Linked DNA regions of Homo sapiens: region 2 is linked to region 1. Evidence: promoter capture Hi-C in 16 types of primary human blood cells and fetal thymus (Javierre and others, 2016). All regions are on one chromosome and are shown on one strand. Each heading gives the region's core, a stretch centred on a gene start or on the middle of the fragment in contact. The rest is flanking DNA. Distances are from core to core; before and after follow the strand shown. Region 1 holds the start of C9orf78 (chromosome 9 open reading frame 78). Region 2 overlaps FNBP1 (formin binding protein 1).

Evidence for each region. The method cuts DNA at HindIII sites, captures the fragments that hold promoters and counts their contacts. A CHiCAGO score of 5 or more calls a contact.
Region 2: a contact is called between a fragment that was not itself captured here and the fragment with the promoter of C9orf78 in region 1, in 5 of 17 cell types (total CD8 T cells, naive CD8 T cells, total CD4 T cells and 2 more). The highest score is 7.7, in total CD8 T cells.

The regions. Positions count from the first base shown.
Region 1 is chr9:129,832,176-129,838,838 of GRCh38, forward strand. C9orf78 (chromosome 9 open reading frame 78) reads right to left here and starts at 3,100. Exons shown (of 9, transcript NM_016520.3): 1 at 2,964-3,100; 2 at 2,532-2,591; 3 at 1,483-1,534; 4 at 1,272-1,342. The coding sequence starts at 3,046. It overlaps USP20 (ubiquitin specific peptidase 20), which reads left to right and starts at 3,283. Exons shown (of 26, transcript NM_001110303.4): 1 at 3,283-3,324. RefSeq lists silencers at 3,032-3,381, 3,412-3,561 and an enhancer at 3,533-4,033. The HindIII fragment of the contact is 4,419 bases long and covers 1,254-5,672 here.
Region 2 is chr9:129,975,295-129,981,957 of GRCh38, forward strand. It overlaps FNBP1 (formin binding protein 1), which reads right to left. Exons shown (of 17, transcript NM_015033.3): 3 at 4,024-4,080; 4 at 3,171-3,318. Among named protein-coding and RNA genes, the nearest start is that of FNBP1, 65 kb to the right of the region's middle. The HindIII fragment of the contact is 1,917 bases long and covers 1,383-3,299 here.

The DNA.
Region 1 (6,663 bases), core at 1,850-4,349:
CCAAGGATTGAGTGGATACACTTATCCTTAGGTATCCATGGGGGATTGGTTCTAGTGTCCCTCAAGGATACCAAAATCTGCAGATAGTGAAGTCCCTTACATAAAATAGTATAATATCTGCATCTAACCTACACACACACTACCATCTGCTTTAAATCATCTCTAGATTACTTATAATACCAAATACAATGTAAATGCTATATAGTTGTCACAAAAGTACACAGTAAACTTTTATTTTTTTAATTTTTGAATTATTTGAATGTTTGATTTATTAATTTATTGAGACGGAGTCTCACTCTGTCACCCAGGCTGAAGTGCAGTGGCGCAATCTCAGCTCACTGCAACCTCTGCCTCCCGAGTTCAAGCAATTCTCCTGCCTCACCCTCCTGAGTAGCTGGGATTACGGGTGCCCACCACAATGCCCGGCTAACTTTTGTATTTTTAATAGCGACAGTGTTTCACCATGTTGGTCAGGCTGGTCTCGAACTCCTGACCTCAGGTAATCCGCCTGCCTCAGCCTCCTGAAGTGCTGGCATTACAGGCATGAGCCACCGCAGCTGGCCTGAATTTATTATTTTTGTTAATTGTTTTTATATGAAACTTCCCCATAGGTTCACTTATTTTATTTTTTTGAGACAGGGTCTTTCTCTGTCACCCAGGCTGGAGTGCAGTGGTGTGATCGCGGCTCACTCTAGCCTCAACCTCCCTGACTCAAGTGATTCTCCCACTTTAATTTCCTGAATAGCTGGGACTACAGGCACATGCCACCACACCCAGATATATACACACACATATATATATGCGTGTGTGTATATATATATATGTGTGTGTGTGTGTGTGTATATGTGTATATACATGTGTGTATATACATATGTGTATATGTGTGTACATATGTGTGTGTGTGTGTGTGTGTGTATACATACACACTTTTTTTTTTTTTTGTAGAGACAGGGGTCTCACTATGTTGCCCAGGCTGGTCTTAAACTCCTGGACTCAAGCTAACCTCAGCCTCCCAAAGTGTTGGGATTATAGGCATGAGTCATCACGCCTACAATACACTCTTACAAAAGGAGTCTACCAACTTGGCTCTAAGTTAACTTTTAAAGACTTTTTGCTTTCTTTGTTTTTAAATAACACACCCTTTGCAAAGCACAAAACCTGCTTCAAGATGTCCTACTAATGCTGCTGCTACAGGCCCCAGCTCTCTGAGGGAACCTAGACCCAGGCAGCCGCTAAAGGTGAATTTGCATCTAAGCTTGTCCTGAACTTACTTATCTTTGCCCCTTTCCTTCAGTTTCTTCATATCCACCATACCACCTGTCTTCATCTGAAAGGGATCATCCTGCAGAAAGCAAACACAGTTAAGAGGAAGCATCTAAATACATGGTAGTGGAATTTTTTTTTTTGTGAAGCACGCTCACTCACTGAAGAGCACTGCAGGGAGGGCTGCCATAACTACTCAGGGAAGACCCCATAACTTACCACTAGAGTGGTCTCCTCTTGTACCTTCTCTCCCACCAGCAAGGCCACAGCACTGAGCAAAACCAAAAAAAAAAGAGAGGGGGAGAGAGAGAAATGGCATAATTCAGAGATAAGGAGGAACCCTCTCAGGTATGCGGATTGCAACATTAGTGCAAGGGTGGGATTTGAGGGGTGGGTAGGCAAGCCGGCTGGAAAAGCCTATAAGCATAAGACAGGGCTCAACGAGCACCGCAGATGCTGGAAGAAGGGTGCGCTGGTGGTGAAGTGGTACACTTTGCCACTTTCCTGTAAAGCCATTTGGCATTATCTTGGCCTGGAAATCTCATTTCTAAGATATTCTCATCATGGAAAGTGCAGCTAAAGATAAATTTAAGAGAATATCCACTGCAGCCTTATTTGATAGTAAAAATTTACAAAATCACCTACATGTCCCAAAATAGGGGATTTGTTAACAAATTACAATACACACATCTGGTGGAATATTATGCAGCCATTAAGGCTTTCTGAAAAATATTCCACAATATGGGTGAATGCCCACAATGTCATAATGAGTTGAAAAGAACAGGGAATAAAAGTACATAGAAAGTTGTTCACAATCTGAGAGAGAGAGACGAAAAAAAACAGATTGGAAAGAGTATTCAATATTAATACCAGTGCATTCTTGGGTGGCTCTGCAAGGAAAAAAAATGTTAACACTGATCATTTCCGGATGGGAGAATTATGGGTGCTTTTTATCGTCTTGACTATACTTTTCTAAATTATACAAACTCTTAACGATCGATATGCATTTCACAATTAATTGGTTTTAATAAAAAACGCGAGTTAGTGATCTGTTTCTGTATCTCTGGAGCACACCCCGAGACGACACAGCTCAGGGCATGTCCTGGTTAAACATTTGCAAAGAACGCTGTTCTCCAAGTTGGGCAGTGGAAGGTGTACAGTGTGTCAAGAGAAAAATCTACGTCTGAGGAGATATTTGTGACAGCGACCCGGACGCGGATGTGTCTGTCGTCCCCGCCGCCTCCTCCTCCTCCCCGCGTGGTACCCACCTCACCCCGTTGGGCCTCTTCCTCAAGTTCTGTACCTCTCTGGTCTCTTCCAGTTTTAATCTTTAAAAAGAAGAAGAAGCAGCAATGCATAAGCTGAGTGATTCCCCGCGGAATCCAAAGCTAACAGAGCCAATAAGGCACCTTCGAGGGCATCCCAGCCCAGCTACTGAGCCACCAGCACAGTGGTCCAGAGGACGACCTTGTGCCTAGACCCACCGGGAGTCAGAGCCACTGCGCATCCCGGAGGCATCTCTCTCAACCGTTCGAGCTTGGGGCGGTGGCCTCACCCCTTGAGCCTCAATTTCTGCGTCCGCAGAAGGAACCACCACCCGAGCTCACAGTTAACAATGTCAGCGAAGCGCCGAGCCGGTGGTGAGTCCCCCAAACAAGTCTATCTTTACCAAGCCTATGGGAGCCCCGCCCCAAACGCACCGAACCTCCTCTGAGTCCTGCTCATCTTCCTCTGACTCCGAGTCGCCCCGGCGGCGACGGAAAATCTTCCGGACGACCGGCATGGTGACAACGGCCGAGTTGTACAGCCGCCGCGCCTCTGCGCAGCGGCCCAGGCTGCTTCCGGCGCGCGGCAGAGCGGTCAGAGCGCCTGCCCCGTCTGGCCCCGCCCCCGGCACGCACAGTCCGCGTGGCCACGCCCCCTCTCCTGGCGTCAGCCTCTTCCGATTGGACGGCAGAGGGAAGGAGGTGGGGCGTCGCCAGACGGCCCCACAACCCTGCGCGTCGCCTCAGAGGGGGCGCGCTTGACTGACAGGCGGCGGCGGCGCAGTTGCGAGTGCAGGTGAGTTCCGGGCCGCCACCGGCTGCTTCTGTGGGCCGGGCCTCTGAGCATTGGCGACCCCAGCCCGGCTCCGGGCTGACAGGGCCTGGCTTCGCCAGGTACGCCAGACGCAGCGGCCCGGTGAGCGGAGCCCGGGACCCCCCCGGCCGCCGCCGCCCCTCTCCCCTCCTCCGGTCGGCGCCCAGGGGGGCCTCTGGGCCCCAGCACCACCCCACTCTGAGCTCCCTGGGGGCTCGTGGCTTCTCCAGAACCGGGGCCGCCCCCCTCTCATTTCTGCCGGGGCCTGACCTAGCGTTGAAAGCATCCGCGTGGCGTCTCGCGTCTCGGGCGCTGACTTTTCTTTCCTCGGGCTCTGAGCCCTGACGTGCGTTTTTTTCTTTCGGAACAAAAGATGACCACTTCTCTGCGGTGCTGACTTAGAGTCCCAGCGCCGACTGCCTCACAAATAATGGCCCCCAGCTTCTCCGCGAGGAGAGGCGCGTCTGATGTTTTGAAGCCACGCAAGAGGGTTTGAGCCGGGGGACTCCTCCTCGGTGCTTGCCGGCCACCCCCCTGGACCTTCACGGGTCTGGTTTTCCTCCTTCGGCAGGTCTGTCGCTCTACCCTCTGCCCCTTCCACCCCGAAGATGCTGTGAGGATAAAGTTTATTTGAAAAACTGGTATCAGCAAACGCTTAGGAAATACCTAAATGCATAAATAATGGCTTCTAGGACTTTTAAGAACCCCTTAAGTAACAGTAGTTTTCCTTTTCTCAGTGTCATCCCTTACTTTGAGAACTACCTCTTATTAAGCAGTTACTATGTGGCAGGCCCTGGGCAAAGCATCATCTCATTGAATTCTCCCAGCAATCCTTTGAGGTAGATTGTTTTTCGTTTTACAAATGAGAATGCGGAGTCTCCGAGGGGCAGTGCACGCCTCAAGTTACCCAGCTAGGAGGTGGAACAGGAATTGGTTGCAGGTCAGTCTCTGCCGCACGGTTTGCACAGGGCCTGGCACGGTAGGAGTGCAGTAGATGTTTGCTGCTGCTGCAGCTGCTGTTACATCTCATTGGCTAGGGGGAGGGGCCGATGGGGGCTGTCTGGGGTTCCCCTTTCTGGAAGACCATTCCGAAGCAGGGCAGCATTTCTAGAATGCCTTACGTTTTCTCTGGAACAGTCTCCACTGAGATTGTTCTTCTCTTCCTTGGGCTGGAAAAAATAGTAGACTCGGGACTTCTTGCACCAGCGTTTTATCTTTGGTCAAAAGCCATATATTAAAGTCTCAAAGTCTTGCCCTCTGCAGACTGGTTCAGCCAAACCCAGATGCACGTGCACTCACTGGATACGGAGTCCCTGTCAGATGATGGAGAGGCTCCTTGGGAATTGCTGCAGGAGTCCAGGGGGTCAACGTCTGCAGCTCTCACGCTCTCAGAGGTGGCTCTGAATCTGCCCATCAAGCAGCCCATCCACCAGGGGGTACTGGACACTACTAAGGAAAGGGCAAGAAGGCCAGGGGCATTTCTGGACCCTCCTCCTCAGCTGAAGTCCCAGGGTACAGATGAGCTGCTCCCACCCTTGCTCCATGAGGCCAGAGGACCCAGTGATAACCACCACCTGTGCTGTGGCAGATCTAATTGAGTGCTCTTTAGCAAAAGGAATGCTGAAAAAGTGGCAGCTATGAATCTGGCAGTAAGTGGCTTTGCCAAGAGACTGCAGCCCAAGTCTCACTGGGCCCTTTTAAGCGTAGGATGAGACTGTCTCTCAAAAGGACCCTCCGAGAAATACAGGTTCTATGCAGTTCAAAGATGAATCCAAGGTCTTAGTCTTGTTTGGGAGTTCAGTTGTTTTAAGAAAATGTACAGATTCAACCTAGGTTTTGGTTGGTTTCCTAGCTCCTTTCTGGAGCCAGATGAAATGTTGGCTTGTTTCAGGGTTCAGGGAGCATTCATGTCCGATTGGATTTGGGATCCAGCAACGTGATACAGTTCACAGCCCAGCTATAGTCGGCATCCAATAAATGTATTTATTGGATCAATGTATTCAACAGATTCTTAGCATTTACTATATGAGCAGGCACTGTTCTAAGTGCTTGAAATAAGTCAGCAAAAGAGACAAAAGATCCCTGATTAGTTGAGTGTATGTTCTCACAGTAAAGTATGTAAAGTGTGTTAGAAGATGGTAAGTGCTGTGGAAAAGAAACAAATAGAGCAAAACAAGGGAATCACCTCCGGGAGGGTGGCAAGGTTGAGTTGCAAATTAAAATTAGCGCATTCTGGTTTGGGATTTGGTTGGAAACATGACAGATAAAGCAGTGGATTGAATGATAGGCCTTGGGTTCCAGTCACTGCCTGGTGGTTTTAGGGGTCTGTAAGCTTGAACTTTATTTTACAAAAGCTTTTATTTAGAGTGTACACCCTGAACTCAAGTCCTGATTGTGGGGTATTTAACAGTGATGAAAGAGCCAGGCTGTTCTTAGCCTTTTACCTTAGCAAGACAAACAGTATCCAACTGGTTCTCATTAGCATGAAGGAGGAAACTTGGAGAAGCCATGCACGTTGACAACAATTTTTTTTTTTTTTTTTGAGACGGAGTCTCACTCAGTTGCCTAGGCTGGAGTGCAGTGGTGCGATCTTGGCTCACTCCAACCTCCGCCTCCCAGGTTCAAGTGATTCTCCTGCCTCAGACTCCTGAGTAGCTGGGATTACAGGCGCCCACCACCACACCTGGCTAATTTATGTATTTTTAGTAGAGACGGGGTTTCACCATGTTGGCCAGGCTGGTCTCAAATTCCTAACCTTGAGTGATCCGCCCGCCTCAGCCTCCCAAAGTGCTGGGATTACAGGTGTGAGCCACTGTGCCCGGCTAACAACAAATATTTAAAGGCAGGAAAGTGGCAGTGCTCTTTGGCTCCAGTGAGCAGTCATGGCTCAATAAATAGAAATTTCAGGAGAGCCAATTTCCATTGATTATAAAGACTTAGGTTTGTAGCAACTAGAGCTGCCCTCTGGGAAAAGGGTGATTTTATCATCAACGACTGCTCAAACTGGGTTTGGAGAACAACCCAGTATGGCTTTTACAGAGCAGAGTTGTGCCTTAAGGGGAAGATGCATGGTTTCTAAACCCCTTTAAACTCTGAGATTGCATGGGGGAAGGCAGCTGCAGATCATGCTGCCTGAAAAGAGAGGATCTGATTTCAGGCCCCAGAAATCATGATTTTCCTAGTTCTTAGTTTCCGCATCTCTAATGTGAGTTTTTTCTAAGGTTTCTAGTCTGAGCTTCGAGACTGAGTTTCTGCTCATGCTTACTCACCACTGAGTGTGAGGCTTTTAATGACCTGGGCCAGTGACTGGCTGCAGCCTAG
Region 2 (6,663 bases), core at 1,091-3,590, 140 kb after region 1:
AGGTTTCATGATTTTCTAAAATGTCATTTTAATTTAATAACAGAATGTTTCAAAAGAGCATGATGTTTACAGCTCCTCCCAACAGAACATCTGACTCAGAAACCTGTACTTGCAGTTCTTCTTAAAATAAAAGGAACACTATGTATTGCAAGATATTTAATGTGTATCTGTACCACCTATAATTTATTCCATAAATTACTGTAATTTTTGATTAACAAAAGGAACTAAATCCGAAATACAGATATGACAGACTATAAAAAAGTCATCATTAACAGTGAGTAAATAAAATATAAAACAACTTGACCATAACACAGCAAAGGAATACGAGGGGGCACGGTGGCTCACGCTTGTAATCCCAGCAGTTTGGGAGGCCAAGACGGGTGGATCATTTGAGGTCAGGAGTGCGAGACCAGCCTGGCCAACATGGTGAAACCCTATCTCTACCAAAAATATAAAAAATTAGCCGGATATAGTGGCATGTGCCTGTAATCCCAGCTACTTGGGAGGCTGAGGCAGGAGAATCGCTTGAACCTGGGAGGTGGAGGTTGTGGTTAGGCGAGATCGTGCCACTGCACTCCAGTCTGGGCAACACAGTGAGACTCCATCTTAAAAAAAAAAAAAAAAAAAAAAGGAGAGAGACAAAGCATTGACAAAAGAAACAACCAGGAAAAAAATATAAACCTTTGCAAGGTCAAGGGAAGTTCAGGGTCCAGGGAAGCAGTCCAGGATCATGTTAAGATTTCTGGTATTTATTTTATTATATTAGATATTTGTACTTCATTCTGAACCTTAGTATTCTGTTTCACTGCATCCTTTCTGTCACTAAAGAAATCTTTAATGAATGGTCCAGCAGAAACTGTCATCTAATTTAGGGCTCCAGTGCAGGGTTTCTCACTCTCAGCACTATAGACATTTTGGGCCAGGTCATTCTTCGTTGGGGAGCTGTCCTGTATATTGTAGGAGGCTTAGCTGCCTCCCTGGCCTCTTCTCTCTAGATACCAGTAGCAACCCCTTAGCCACAATCCCTGAGACAACCAAAAGTGTCTCCAGACACTGATAAATGTGGCTGGAGTAGGGAGTAAAACTGTCCCTAGTTGAGAACCACTGTGCTAATGTCAACAGATGAAGATTCATCTCAGTTTATTGGCATATTGTTGTTTTAAACCAATGGGTTGATCTTAAGGCATTTATCTCTTCCTAACTTTTAAACCTATCCAAGGCCATATGCTACACATTTATAGTTTAGAAAGAACTAAATTGAGACATTTTCAAACACCTTCCTGCCCAAGCGCCCTGGCTGCTCTCTATTGAATGCTTGTCCCAGGCAGGTCCTAATCATCCCTCAAGTCTTGTTAAGGCCTTAACTGCGAAGTCCCTTGGGAAGCTTCTTCCTGACCCCAGAGCATGAGCATATCAGAAATCCTATTATATGCTCTCATAGCACGTTCTACTCTTACTTTGTGGCAACTACCATAATTGCAATTAAATAATCACTTTTGTCATTATTACTTAATGTCTCCTCCATTTCAGCAGAAGCCATAGTAATCTTGTTGGCTCATGTATCCCCAGGGCATTAAAAGAACTGTTGTGGCTGGGCTCGGTGGCTCACGCCTGTAATCCCAGCACTTTGGGAGGCCAAGGCGGGTAGATCACGGTGGTCTGAGGAGTTTGAGACCAGCCCGACCAATATGGTGAAACCCCATCTCTACGAAAAATACAAAAAATTAGCTGGGCATGGTGGCGGGCACCTGTAATCTCAGCTACTGAGGGAGGAGAATCGCTTGAACCCGGGGGGCGGAGGTTTCAGGGAGTCGAGATCGCACCACTTCACTCGGGCCTGGACCAAAGGGTGAAACTCCGTCTCAAAAAAAAAAAAAATGTTATCACTGGCCAACGTGATTACTTTATTACTAGTAACAAATTTTTCCGCACTTCACATGCAATCGAAGTACAATGATACAGACCATGGCTTAAAGATAAATCCCTTAAGGCAAAATCATGACTAAGAATAGACTTTGAGCATCCATTTTTCTCTTTGGTTACCAACAAAACCTATTTATGAAAAGACGATAATGGTGGCAAGAGGAACAATAAGGTTTGCTTCATTAGATAGCAATGAATGAGCTGAGGAAAAGAATGGATGTAACTGGGGACATCTTTCCATTTTTTTGACCTACTTACAAGCACTAATTTTTTTTTTTTTTTTTTCTTTTTGAGGTGGAGTTTTGCTCTTGTCACCCAGGCTGGAGTGCAATGGCGAGATCTCGGCTCACTGCAACCTCCACCTCCTGGGTTCAAGCAATTCTCGTGCTTCAGACCCCCAAGTAGCTGGGGTTATGGGTACCCGTCACCACGCCCAGCTAGTTTTTATATTTTTAGTAGAGAAGGGGTTTCACCATGTTGACCAGCCTGATCGCGAACTCCTTAGCTCAGGTGATCCATCTGCCTAGGCTTCCCAAAGTGCTGGGATTACAGGCGTGAGCCACCATGCCCGACTGATAAGTACTAATTTTAATACCATTTATTCCACAGAGCATACACCATATTATATTACTTACTTGTTTTTTAAATGTCTGATACCCTGAAATATATTTAAATTCCTCAAAGGGATGCATATTCCTTTGAATATGGGTCCACAGATGAGTTTCAGAGTGTCTGAAGGACCCTTGACATTTTACGTAGAGACCTAGAAACACTTTCTAGGAACAGGGTCTGTAACTTTTTTTCTTTTTTTTTTTCTTTTTGAGACGGAGTCTTGCTCTGTCGCCCAGGTTGGAGCACAGGTGCAAAATCTCGGCTCACTGCAACCTCCGCCTCCCAGGTTCAAGCGTTTCTCCTGCCTCAGCCTCCTGAGTAGCTGGGATTACAGCCACATGCCACCACGCCTGGCTAATTTTTGTATTTTTAGTAGAGATGGGGTTTCGCCATGTTGGTCAGGCTGGTCTCAAACTCCTCACTTTGTGATCCGCCTGCCTCGGCCTCCCAAAGTCCTGGGATTACAGGCATGAGCCACCGTGCCCAGCTGGGGTCCATAACTTTTATATGATTCTCAAAGGTATGAGTTTAAGACCCATAGTCTTATATGGTTTTATTTAATTTTAATCTTCTAGGGATATTCCCACTGTGTTTGGTCCATCTTTTAGGAAGAAAAAGAATAAAGTTTTGCTTACTGATTTCCTCTCCTGTTTCAGTTCCTGAACATAGCGTGCCAAGTCCACAATGATCTGTGATGCCATGTTCTCGGAGATAACTTCATGCTGCCCTGCGTAATCATTCATTTCGTTCAGGTTGGAAATGAAAGCTTTACATGACGTATACCTATGGAACAGAACACACGCCACTCTGTTTCACACAAGGCCACATTCATTCATATTCTGCTTTACACCAAGAAAATATTAATTAAAATCAGGTTAATTGGCATCCACCTCCCATAGGATCCTGAGTATTCATTACACATCAAGTGTTCTCAACAAAATGGCTCAGAATTAATTACAATTGAAACACTTTTCATTTTGCAAAACTGAACCGCTCCGCATAATGTAATATTTGGCTTCATTGATACTTAGTCAAGATATAATCCAAAATTCATATACATGCTATATGTACTAATGTAAAGGATATTTAGATATACATTAGAGATGTAATATTTGAGTGGTCTGTGTTAAGATGCCTTAATTGCTGACTGAAATTGACATATTTCTTGGATGAATGACTAGCATGACAGGGACTCCTGACAGTGCCAAACCAAATCAACTCTAGAATGCAGATTCCATACTTCCTGTTTTTGCTTAATTACATTCTAAAGTTTTCCTAATTACTTTAATTGAAACAATCTGGCATAGGTCCAGTGACTCCATATAAGAAAAGTTAATTATGTTTTTATTGTTCTCTCCTCCAATTTAAAAACTGACACAAAATGAATGGGAAATGCAACTTATTTTTATAGACATGTATTTCTCCTTTCCGTGTGTAGTCATCAATGGCATGTGTCTATTACAAGACAATTTTCAATGGTAAACATACTTGTATTCTTCTTCCTCCTTCGAGTTCTTTTTAGGTTGGTACTTCTTTGAAAGATTCCTGAAATAAAAATGCAGACATGTCAGCTTTATATAGAAAGAGAATTAAGAAATCAGGAATGAAAGATAACATTAGTGCTTTTGTTACAAGTTTAAAACAAACAAAAAAAGTCCACAGCTGAAATCCATTTCCTTCAATCTTTCAACATGTGTGATGAAGCTACTGTTATTAAGAACGTGCACAGCTTTTCATCTTTTGTCTCAAAGCAGAGCAAATAAGAACAGAATTATTTAATTGGAGAGGACAGACCATGTGTAAATATGCAGTGGCTTTCTTTTTTTTTGAGACGGAGTCTCATTCTGTTGCCCAGGCTGGAATGCGGTAGCGTGATCTCAGCTCATTGCAACTTCTGCCTCCCGGGTTCAAGCGATTCTCCTGCCTCAGCCTCCCAAGTAGCTGGGACTACAGGTGCACGCCACCACATCTGGCTAATTTTTTTTGTATTTTTAGTAGAGATGGGGTGTCATCATGTTGGTCAGGCTAGTCTCGAACTCCAGACCTCAAATGATCTGCCTGCCTTGGCCTCCCAAAGTGCTGGGATCACAGGTGTGAGCCACGGTGCCCGGCTGTGCAGTGGCTTTCATTTGTAGCACTGAGCTGTTTTTCTTCTCAGGCCACCATTCTCTCGTGGTCATCCTGAGTTGGGGCATTATTTCTTCAAATCCAAGGAAAACTGTGTCCAAATGTTTAAAAATCAGAGTGCCGGCCGGGCACAGTGGCTCACGCCTGTAATCCCAGTACTTTGGAGGCCGTGGCAGACAGATCACCTGAGGTTGGAAGTTCGAGACTGGCCTGACCAACATGGAGAAACCCCGTCCCTACTAAAAAATACAAAATTAGCTGGGCATGGTGGCGCATGCCTGTAATCCCAGCTACTCAGGAGGCTGAGGCAGAAGAATCGCTTGAACCCGGGAGGAGGAGGTTTCGGTGAGCCGAGATCGCACCATTGCACTCCAGCCTGGGCAACAAGAGCGAAACTCCATCTCCAAAAAAAAAAAAAAAATCAGAGTGCCAAGGGCATGTTTCTAAGGCTGTGTGGCTGCTCTACCAGCGAGCGCATGAAAACCACCTGTGAATAAATCTTCTTGAAGGAAGTCAAGACAATATTTTGGGGGTGTTGATGCTAAGACATTTAACTAGAAAAACTTTTAACCTGCCTAGCAGGTTTGCATTGAACACATTCAGATTAGCCAAAATCATCCTAGTTTCCCTTCCTAATCTCATCTCCATGTTAAGAATCTAAATATTTTTCTTTATATTCACAAATAGACACAAAAACTAAGAGGTAATCACAGAAAAAAAAAAAAAAAAAAACCCTCACTAACACTGGTTCTACTGACTGATTTCTCCTGGGTCCTGACTTTAGGTGACTATAGTTAGAGAAATAGCCATAGCAGCCAGGCACGGTGGCTCATGCCTGTAATCCCAGCACTTTGGGAGGCTGAGGCGGGTGGATCACGAGGTCAGGAGATCGAGACCATCCTGGCTAACATGGTGAAACCCCGTCTCTACTAAAAATACAAAAAATTAGCTGGGCATGGTGGCAGGCGCCTGTAGTCCCAGCTACTCGGGAGGCTGAGGTAGGAGAATGGCATGAATCCAGGAGGCGGAGCTTGCAGTGAGCTGAGATCGCGCCACTGCACTCCAGCCTGGGCAACAGAGCGAGACTCCGTCTCAAAAAAAAAAAAAAAAAGAGAAATAGCCATAGCATGTTTTCTTGTTTGTTTGTTTGAGACAGAGTTTCACTCTTGTTTCCCAGGCTGGAGTGCAGTGGCATGATCTTGGCTCACTACAACCTCCACCTCCTGGGTTCAAGTGATTCTCCTGCCTCGCCTCCCGAGTACCTGGGATTGCAGGCATACACCACCACGCCCAGATAATTTTTGTGCTTTTTAGTAGAGACGGGGTTTCACCACGTTGGCCAGGCTGGCCTCAAACTCCTGAGCTCAGGTGATCTGCCCGCCTCGGCCCCCCAAAGTGCCACTGCACCCGGCCAAGAAATAGCGAGAGCATGCTGAGCAGTAATCCACAGTAGGAACTCCATGTGTCAGCATCTCAGTCCTCACTTCCTTGTTAATTCCCTGTTGCTATTCCTCTTTATTATTTCACATGTTACTTTTATTTCTTCTACTTCCCCCAAATCTACAGATGTGCCTAGAAAAATATGTGATAATCAATTTACAATTTTGATCATGGTATGTTTTGCATACCAAGTGACATGTGGTTTCATCTGTAACAAATGCTACTAGATGACGGGAGAGGCCACCGGCTTCAGTACAAAGGGCATTGCTCTGGGAATCAAGAGACCATGTGCCCGGACAGCATGACCTCAGCAAATGAGCCAGTCTGTGCTTCCCATTCCTAATGTGTACGTCAGCAGGGGTTGGACGACATGACCTCCATTGTCCTTCTTGTTTTGAAATTCTGTGGGACTAGATAACATCCAGTAGAATATTAACTGCTGCAATTATTCAAAAAATGGAGGCATGTATATATAATAGTTTAAAAGTTATAATTAGACCGACTGATGAAAGAATGTAGTTAATTCAAAACTGAGATCATGTTGGCATACACGTCAACATA